Linked DNA regions of Homo sapiens: region 2 is linked to region 1. The links are contacts of gene promoters, found by promoter capture Hi-C in human tissues and cell types (Jung and others, 2019). All regions are on one chromosome and are shown on one strand. The core of a region is centred on a gene start or on the middle of the fragment in contact, and the rest is flanking DNA. Distances in the headings are between cores, read along the strand shown. Region 1 holds the start of PCDHB2 (protocadherin beta 2). Region 2 overlaps PCDHGA1 (protocadherin gamma subfamily A, 1).

Region 1 (4,693 bases), core at 696-3,195:
TTGGTCACCAGGTAGCCCGGCTCGGCCGCCCGGGGCACCAGCTCGGTGCAGGGCGCGGAGCCGTTCTGCAGCGGGTACAGCACGAAGGGCGAGTTGTCGTTGGCGTCCAGCACCAGCACGCGCACCAGCGCCTCGCTGCTCAACGCCGGGGAGCCGCGGTCTGCGGCGCCCACGCGGAACTCGAACGCCTGCAGGGCCTCGTAGTCCAGCGACTGGAGAGCGAACAGGTGGCCGTTGTCCGCGTTGATGGAGACCAGGGAGGCGAGGGGCAGGTGCGGGTCCTGGGGCGGCAGCAGCGAGTAGGTGACCTGGGCGTTGGTGCCCGAGTCTCTGTCTGTGGCGCTGACGCTGCCGATGTGCAGGGCGGGGCTGTTGTTCTCGCGGACGAACAGGGTGTAGGAGGTTTGGGTGAAGGCGGGGGCGTTGTCATTGACGTCGGAGACCAGCACGGTTATGTTGTGCTCGGTTTTCAGCCTGGGTGTCCCGAAGTCGGTGACGGTGATGGTGATGTTGTATTCGGATCTGGTCTCCCGGTCCAGGGCCGTGCTTATCACCAGAGTGTAAAAGTTCTCAACAGAAGGTTTCAAGAAAAAAGGAAGATCATCTTGGATGGAGCACACCATCCTTCCGTTGTCTCCGGAGTCAGGATCTGAAACGCTGAATACAGCAATGAGGGTGTCCTGCAAGTTTTCTGGGATCTGATTGATAAGTGTCGACATAGTTAGTTCCGGAGGATTGTCATTCAAATCCATCACTTGGACAAATACCACACAAGTTCCAGATAGGCCCCCACCATCTGTCGCCTGAATATTTACTGTGTATGTCTGGATGGATTCGAAATCCAGTTTCTGTCTTAAAAGCAGTTCTCCCGATTTTGCACTTAATCGAAACGTTTTGCGAATGTCTTCAGATGCTTGGGAAAATGCATAAGATATTTCTCCATTAGTTCCAATGTCTAAATCCCTGGCAGAGACGATGGCAACCTGGGATCCAACGGGGCTGTCCTCCGGGATCTGCACCTCATAGAGCAGCTTTGCAAACTCTGGGACGTTGTCATTGATGTCCACAACTTCAATCCGTACCAGGGCCGTGCCGGACCTGGGTGGACTCCCGCCATCTAGCGCTGTGAGGGTTAACCTGATCTCAGGCTGCTCCTCGCGATCCAGGGCTCTGTTCAGCACCAGCTGTGGTAATATTATGCCATCGAGACTGTCTTGTAAATTAAGATGAAAGTGGAAATTGGGACTGATTGTGTAATTTTGGAGACTGTTGGTTCCTACATCCAAGTCCTGGGCACGTTCTATTAAGAAAGTAGTTCCAGGAGTGATACTTTCTGGAATTTTCAAAAGTATTTCTTTGTCTAGGAAAACTGGGGAATGATCATTTACGTCCCTAATCCGTAGCTCCGCCTGAAAAAACTGCAAGGGATTTTCTAGTAACACCTGGAAAGGTAGGACACAGGGCTCTGTGGGGCCGCACAGCTCCTCCCGGTCCAATTTCTCATTTAACAACAAATCCCCGGTCTGCCTATCGAACTGCAAATGCATTTTTTTTCCTTTGGAAACGACCCTGGCCCCCCTCACAGCAAGTTCTCCTATCTCCAGCCCCAGGTCTTTTAACAAATTGGCCACAAAGGAGCCACTCTCCGTTTCCTCGGCCACTGAATAGTGCCTAGGCTGGCAACTAGCCTGAGCTATGCCCAGCAAAACAAAGAATATCAGGACTTGCCTTTGTTTCGGAACGCGCTCCTTCCCCTCTCCGGCCTCCATTGCTTTCTGGTCTCTCACCAAACGTGCTCCAGCTCTGGCTCACGTTGTCGCTAACTCTATCTCCCCGTATCTCGCTGATACTGGGATGAGTGGACAATCCTAGGGCCCGGATTTCCCGGAGCGACCGCCTTAGAAAGCCTCCTCTTCCTGCTTGCTGCTTCTTTAGCTGAGTATCTGGGTAAGGGAGCGTCGGCTGGGTGCTTTGTTTCTGCTACTTCTAAGGCTGCAGCGCCACCCCGCGTCTCTTCCGAGTATTTATTTTCTCCTAAACTTTAAGAAAATCCCAGTGCTTTCTTTCAGGCTGATGGCAATCGAAATTGAGTATTTTCAAGTAGTGTCTCTCAGTGTACCGAAGTCTTATTGGCGTTTCGAAAGGCTCTTCATTGCACCCATAGAGACAGGGCAAGAATAAATAAATCTTCACTTCCCTCACAAATCCAAGCTTTTTTTTTTTTTCAAACTGGAAAAAATAAATTTCAGAACCTGGAAGGGAGTGATCTCAGTCCTAGCATGCTTCGGAAAGAAGGCTTAGACTAAGAAAGTTCTATTTTTATTCAGAGTTTGGGCATGTGTGCAACTCAGTGGTGGTTAGATTACCATCATCACACTCAAACCCAGCTGAAAAACAGAGACCCAGGAAAAGCACAGAATCCAAATAAGAGTATTTTAATGGGCACTGAAATAGTCTCCTTACTCATATTTCTTTCTTTGCACTGCTCCCACTTCACATTTTCCTGAACTTTGATGTGTCTGAGCCTCATGAAACTCTCCAAGAGCAGCCAGATATTTCCTTATTGTAAATGTATCAATATTATTTTCCTTTCTAATGCCTAGGAGAACTTTCAACATAACCTCAATTCAATTACCACATCTAGCAAAGAGCAATTTCATAATATTAAATAGCCAGTAAATATTCCAGTTTCCCCAATTATCTTTAAAAATGTCTTTTCAGTGATGGTTTCTTCAATCTGCTTCCAAACAGGGTATATATGTCATTGTTTGTTGTTAGGTTTTTTAATTTTGTCTTTTTGTTTCTTTTTTAATGTTAATATAAAGAAGTTATCAAGCCACAGAATGACATGAAGGAAACTTAAATGCATATTTCTCAGTGAAAGAATCCAGTCTGAAAAGGCAATGATACTGTATAATTCAAATTACATGATACTCTGAAAAAGGCCAAATTATAGAGACATTTAAAAGACAAGTGATAGCTAGGAAGAAGAGGGAGGGGGATGAAGAGGTTAAACATGGGGTACTTTACGATACTACAATGGTAGATACATGACATTATGCCGTTGTCAAAATCCACAGAACTATACAACACAAAGAGTGAACACTAAACTATGAAATTTAGTTAATAATTTACCAGTATTGGCTCATCAATTGTAACAAATGTACCACAGTAATGCAAGATTTTGATAACAGGGAAACTTTGAGTGGGAGAAAATCGGTATGTGAGGGGAACTGTTTGTACTATTTGCTCAATTTTCTGTAAACTCTAAGGCTGCTTTAAAAAATAATTTTACTTTGGGAGGCCGAGGCAGGCAGATCACGAGGTCAAGAGATCAAGACCATCCTGGCCAACCTGGTGAAACCCCATCTCTACTAAAAATACAAAAAAAATGAGCCAGGCATGGTGATGGGTGCCTGTAATCCCAGCTACTTGGGAGGGTGAGGCAGGAGAATCACTTGAACCCGGGAGGCGGAGATTGCAGTGAGCTGAGATCATGCCATTGCACTCCAAGCCTGGTGACAAAGCGAGACTCCATCTCAAAATAATAATAATAATAATAAATATTAGGATGTGTCTCTAAAAGATCCATTGGGTTAAAAAATTGGGGGATGAAGAAAAAAATTAAATATATAGAACAGTTAAAAGAACTATACATAAACTACAACTCTAACCTCCATCCAAACTTAACAATTGTTTATATTTTACCATATTTGTTCTATCTTATTCTGTACACACACCCGCTTTTCTGATGACTTATATGAAAGTAACTTGCAGACATCATATTTCACCTCTAAATATTTCAGCAGGTATCACATAATTATAATATTATCTCATATAATCATAATGGTTCTATCATACCTAAGAAAATTTAAAAAAATTCTACAGTTATCTAAAATCCAGCCCCAATCAAATTTCACTGTCTTTCCATTATCTTTTCCTCAATTTTGATAAGAATTCACACTCACTCAAGTTCCTTTGACAAATGCACTTACTTTTTTAACTATTTGTTATAAGGAATGTCTTAGAAACTTTTTCAACCAACTTTGATAATTGTATTTGGCTATTAGATCTATTTACTCTAGAATACTCCCCCATCTTTAATGACATTAGATTTCTGAAGTGTCCAGACTAGTTGTTTTGTAGGATGTCCTACATTCCAAATTTGATTGTTTCCTCATGGTATCATTTAACCTGTTCTTCTATCCCCTGTATTTTCAGAAAACTGGACTGGATGATTTATTAAATGTAACAATAGCATAATATTTTAAAAAGCTCTCATTTATCATCTTGTAACTGGCTAAAAAAAGGATAATCACAGGTTCCTTTTCTTAACATTTAGAAAACAAATGCCTATCTCTACCTGTTGATATTATTTTTTGCTTTCCATGATTATTACTTTTATATGGATGTTATAATAATTCAAAATATGTTAATTCATTGACATTGAGCATTAAACAAATTCATTGAGGTGAATAACACCCAAGGTCCAAGTCTTTAAAAACAGCTTTTTATATAATCTGCAAAACCTGATTAGGGTCCGAAATAGATGTAGTGAAGATCAGTTATATCATACAGGCAAATTATAACTGGTAGGTTACTCGAAATTTTATATTTAACCAGGTATATGGCTATTTCCTTTGGACAGGTTTTCTGAACTAAAGCAGTTATGGTTAATTTGGGATAACATAAA
Region 2 (5,338 bases), core at 1,977-4,476, 370 kb before region 1:
ATATATAGGGTCATTTGTGGTGGTTCATGGCTGTAATCTTAGCACTTTGGGAGGCTGAGGTGGGAGGATCACTTGAAGCCAGTAGTTCAAGACAAGCCTGGGCAACATAGTGAGACCTCACATCTCTACAAAAAAATAAAAAAATTAGCTGGACATGGTGGCATCCATCTGTAGTCCTAGCTACTTGGGAGGCTAAGGTAGGAGGATTGCTTGAGCCCAGGAGTGCGAGGCTACAGTGAGCTATGACTGCATCACTGCAATTTGGCCTGGGCAACAGAACAAGATTCCTGTCTCTAAAAAAACAAAAAGATATAAACTGGCTTTTAAACATATGAAAAACTATTTAACCTCATTCATAATAAGAGAAATTTTAATTAAAATTATTTGGAGATATCTTTTTACCCATCAGGTTGGCAACAATTAAAAAGCTTGACAATATACTCTGCAAAGGAGACTATGGGACAATGGACATTCTCATCTATTTGTAGGAATGCAAGATGGGGAATAGCTATATTTAACAAAACTACATATGCCTTTACCTTATGATGCAGCAATCACACTATTAGGAATTTATTATACGTACATACTTCAAAAATAACAACAACAACAACAAACATATATATCTATATATATAGATATATATATATCTCAGGTTCTTCATTAGCATTTTTTATATTGCAAAAATATTGGATGGAAACTACCTAAATGACAAGTCATAGATGGGTTGAACAGATAATGATATGTGCACATACAATGGAGTTTTTTTTTTTGCTTTTTTTTTTTTTTAGACGGAGTCTCGCTCTGTAGCCCAGGCTGGAGTGCAGTGGCGCAATCTCAGCTCACTGCAATCTCCGCCTCCTGAAATCAAGCAATTCTCCTGCCTCAGCCTTCCAAGTAGCTGGGACTACAGGCGCCCACCACCACACCCAGCTAATTTTTGTATTTTTAGTAGAGACGGAGTTTCACCATGTTGGCCAGGCTGGCCTTGAACTCCTGACCTCAGGTGATCCACCCGCCTTGGCCTCCCAAAGTGTGGGATTACAAGCATGAGCCACTGCACCTGGTTTTTACAATGGAGTTTTATGAAGCTATTTTAAAAATGAAGATTTCTATAAATTTATATAGAATGATTTCCAGGATATATTATTAGTACAAAAAGCAAGGTGAAAACTTTTCCTTTCAGTCATGTGAAACCAGATATACCACTATAACAACTGGGAAGTGGATCAAAATGTGTGATAAAAGCTTTTAGACATTTGTTCAAAAGACAGTGCAGGATTCTAACCCATAAGAGAAGAGAAGCAGGCCGGGCGCGGTGGCTCATGCCTGTAATCCCAGCACTTTTGGAGGCCGAGGTGAGCAGATCACGAGGTCATCCAGACCATCCTGGCTAACACGGTGAAACCCCGTCTCTACTAAACAAAATACAAAAAATTAGCCGGGCATGGTGGCAGGCACCTGTAGTCCCAGCTACTCGGGAGGCTGAGGCAGGAGAATGGCATGAACCCGGGAGCCGGAGTTTCTAGTAAGCCGAGATCACGCCACGTCACTCCAGCCTGGGTGACAGAGCGAGACTCCATCTCAAAAAAAAAAAAAAAAAAAAAAAAAAAAGGAGAAGGAAATGAGGATCCGCAAACTAGGATCTCCATTTTTTTTGCCTGGAGACAACTTTCAGACTGTGGGGCAGGAAAGGGGAAATCCAAGAATAACACCATGGTTTTGCTGAGTTGAGGAATAGATATTAGAGTTTGGGGAGATTAGGAGATTGAGGCAGCCAGAATTTATGGGATAGAGTACTAAAGAGAATGGAGCTACACAAAGAACTCCAGGAATATTAATATGGATCCCCAAGTCTTTGGCTAAATAATAATCTGAGCATACATAGAGTGCACTGACACTTTTCTGCAGCTGGGCGAAGAACTGCCAGGGAGCTATTAGCTGAATTCTTGATGGTCACATAGGGCTGGAAAATGTTTGAATTTCATTTAGCCATAATAAAGAGACCCTGCTGAACACTCAGATTAATCAAAAAAGTCAGAATTAAGTGGTAGGTCTAAATTAGCCCAAGGCAAAAGTTACTACAGACCTGTCCTAACAAAGCTTAAAAACAAGCCTTGAAAAGATCAACCTGATCTGCAAAAAACATAATAGCCTTCCAAAACAAACTGCAATAGTTCTTAAAGAAAGACAAAATCCAAACACTCAAAAATATAACATTTACAATGTCTGCTGTCCAATAAAAACATTATTAGACATGCAAATAAGCAACAAATTATGACCCCAAGCCAGGAAGAAAATCATCATAGGAATTACAGAGGTGACAAAATTAGCAGACAAGGACTTTAAAACCTCCATTATAAATGTGCTCAAAAATTTAAAGAAAAATATGAAGATAATTGAGGATGGAAATGAAAGAGTCAAATGGAACTTCTAAAAGTGAAAAATACAATATATGAAATGGAAACTTCACTGGATGGGATTAGCAAATACAGTAAACACTGAAGAAGAAAAGATCACTGAACAACACTCTTACTAACTTGATCTAGTTGACAATTATAGGATACAACAACCACGAGAAGCAGAATACACAGTTTTCAGTTACACAGTTGTGTGTAAGCAACACTCACCAAGATAGACCATATTCTGTGCCATAAAAGAAATGTTAACGAATTTAAAAGAATAGAAACTATACAATGTATATTTTTGGATCACAATACAATTAAATTAGAAATCAGTGACAAATATATTTGGGTAATACTTACATATTTGGTGACTAAACAATACACTTTAGGCTGGTCATGGTGGCTCATACCTGTAATCCCTGCACTTTGGGAGGCCGAGGCAGGCGGATCACCTGAGGTCAGGAGTTCAAGACCAGCCTGGCCAACATGATGAAACCCCATCTCTACTAAAAATACAAAAAATTGGACTGGGTGCAGTGGCTCATGCCTGTAATCCCAGCATTTTGGGAGGCCAAGGCGGGCAGATCACCTGAGGTCGGGAGTTCAAGACCCGCCTGACCAACATGAAGAAACCCCGTCTCTATTAAAAATACAAAATTAGCCTGGCGTGGTGGCATATGCCTGGAATCCCAGCTACTCAGGAGGTTGAGGCAGGAGAATTGCTGGAACCCAGGAGGCAGAGGTTGCAGTGAGCCGAGATCGTGCCATTGCACTCCAGCCTGGGCAACAAGAGCAAAACTCTGTCTCAAAAAAAAAAGAAAAAAAAATTAGCTGGGTGTGGTGGTGGGCACCTGTAATCCCAGCTACTTGGGAGGCTGAGGCAGGAGAATCGCTTGAATCTGGGAGCCGGGATTGTGCCACTGCACTCCAGCCTGGGCAAAAAAAGTGAAACTCTGTCTCAAAATAAACAAACAAAATAACAAACTTTAAAATAATCCATGGGTCAAAGAAGAAATTGCAAGGTGTATTAGAAAATACTTTGAACTAAATTATAATGGAAATATAACATCCAAAATATTATCTTTGCAAAGTACACATCTGACAAAGGACTAGTATCCAGAATCTACAAGGAACTAACAAATCACCAAGAAAAATAAAACACAATCCCATTAAAAAGTAGGCAAAGGACACAAATAGCCATTTCTCAAAAGAAGGTATACAAATGGCCCACAAACATATGAAAAAATGCTCAACATCGCTAATCATCAGGAAAATGCAAATTAAAACCACAACGAGCTACCACCTTGGTCCTGCAAGAATGGCCATTATTAAAAAGTCAAAAAACAATAGATGTTGGTGTGGATGTGGGGAAAAGAGAACACTTACACATTGCTGCTGGGAATATAAATTAGTACAACCTCTATGGAAAACAGTATGGAGATTCTCTAAAGAGCAAAAAACAGATCTACCATTCAATCCAGCAATCCCACTATTGGGTATCTACCCAAAGGAAAATAAGTAATTATATGAAAAAGACACTTGGACACATATGTTTATAGCAGCACAATTCACAATTGCAAAAATGTGAAACCAACCTAAGTCCCCATCGACTAATGAGTGGATAAAGAAAATGTGGTATATATATATACACATATATATATATACACACACACACACACACACACATATATATATACATAATACATATATATACACACACACATATATATATATACACCATGGAATATTACTCAGCCACGAAAAGGCATGAAATAATGTCCTTTGCAGCAACTTGGATCGAACTGGAGGCCATTACTTTAAGTGTGTATATATGTATACATACATATATATACTTTGTGTGTATATATGTATACATACATATGCAATATGTATATGTACACATATATATACAATGTGTATATATGCTTATAACAATAGTTTATTCTCATTCAACTGTTGGTGGATATATAGATATATAACTGTGTTTACAGTTACATATGTGTAAACACAGTTATATATCTGTATCTGTCTATCTATCCATCTAACACAGAGAGCCCAGAAAAAACCCACACCTACATATGTCCATGGCCAAATGATTTTTGATTAAGGTGCTAAGATTATTTGGTGGGGAAAAGATAGCCTTCTCAGCATATTTTTCCAAAGAGACAATTGGATATTCCTTTGGAAAAAAATATGAATCTTCATTGTTACCTCACACCATACACCATACATAAACATCAACTCAAAAGGATTCATAGACCAAATTATAAATGGTAAAACTATAAAACTTCTAAAAGAAAATATAGGAGAAAATCATCATAAGTTTTCAGTAGGCAAGGAGTTTTTGAATAGGACATAAGAAATACAAACTATAAAAGAAAAAATAAATTGGGCTTTATCAAAATTACATCTTCTGCTCTTCAAAAGACACAACTAAGAAAATGAAAAGACAAGTCATAGTCTGGGATAAAATATCCACAAAATATGTATGTGACAAAGAGCTCACATCAAGAATATATATATTACATATATAAAAATCATATATAATTACATGTATAATTATTATTTTTTAGATGAAGTCTCACTCTGTTGCCCAGGCTGGAGTGCAGTGGTGCAGTCTCGGCTCACTGCAACCTCCGCCTCCTGGGTTCAAGCGATTCTCCTGTCTCAGCCTCCTGAGTAGCTGGGATTACAGGCACCTGCCATCACGCCCAGCTACAAGGATATATTTTAAAACTCCCATAGCTCAATTTTAAGAAGGCGTTCAGCTCAGTTAAAGATGAACGAATGCTTCAAGAAGATATACAAATAGACAACACATGAAAAGTTGCTCAGTGTCTCTAGTCAACAGGGAAAAACAGTTGAAACTTCAATGAGATAGTATCACACACCCACTAGAATTGCTAAAATTTAAAAAATTGACAATAGGAAGCATT

What was found. The method cuts DNA at HindIII sites, captures the fragments that hold promoters and counts their contacts. A contact is called where the count stands out against the background at its distance.
Region 2: a fragment that was not itself captured here is called in contact with the fragment with the promoter of PCDHB2 in region 1 in 1 of the 25 tissues and cell types used here (H1 embryonic stem cells).

Annotation. Positions count from the first base shown.
Region 1 is chr5:141,091,867-141,096,559 of GRCh38, reverse strand. It overlaps PCDHB2 (protocadherin beta 2), which reads right to left and starts at 1,945. Exons shown (of 1, transcript NM_018936.4): 1 at 1-1,945. The coding sequence starts at 1,769. It also overlaps PCDHB@. The HindIII fragment of the contact is 14,626 bases long and covers 1-3,855 here.
Region 2 is chr5:141,459,712-141,465,049 of GRCh38, reverse strand. The region is part of intron 1 of PCDHGA1 (protocadherin gamma subfamily A, 1); the gene reads right to left. The region is part of intron 1 of PCDHGA2 (protocadherin gamma subfamily A, 2); the gene reads right to left. The region is part of intron 1 of PCDHGA3 (protocadherin gamma subfamily A, 3); the gene reads right to left. The region is part of intron 1 of PCDHGB1 (protocadherin gamma subfamily B, 1); the gene reads right to left. It also overlaps PCDHGA4, PCDHGB2, PCDHGA5, PCDHGB3, PCDHGA6 and PCDHGA7, and 10 more genes. Among named protein-coding and RNA genes, the nearest start is that of PCDHGC3, 14 kb to the left of the region's middle. The HindIII fragment of the contact is 8,589 bases long and covers 1-5,338 here.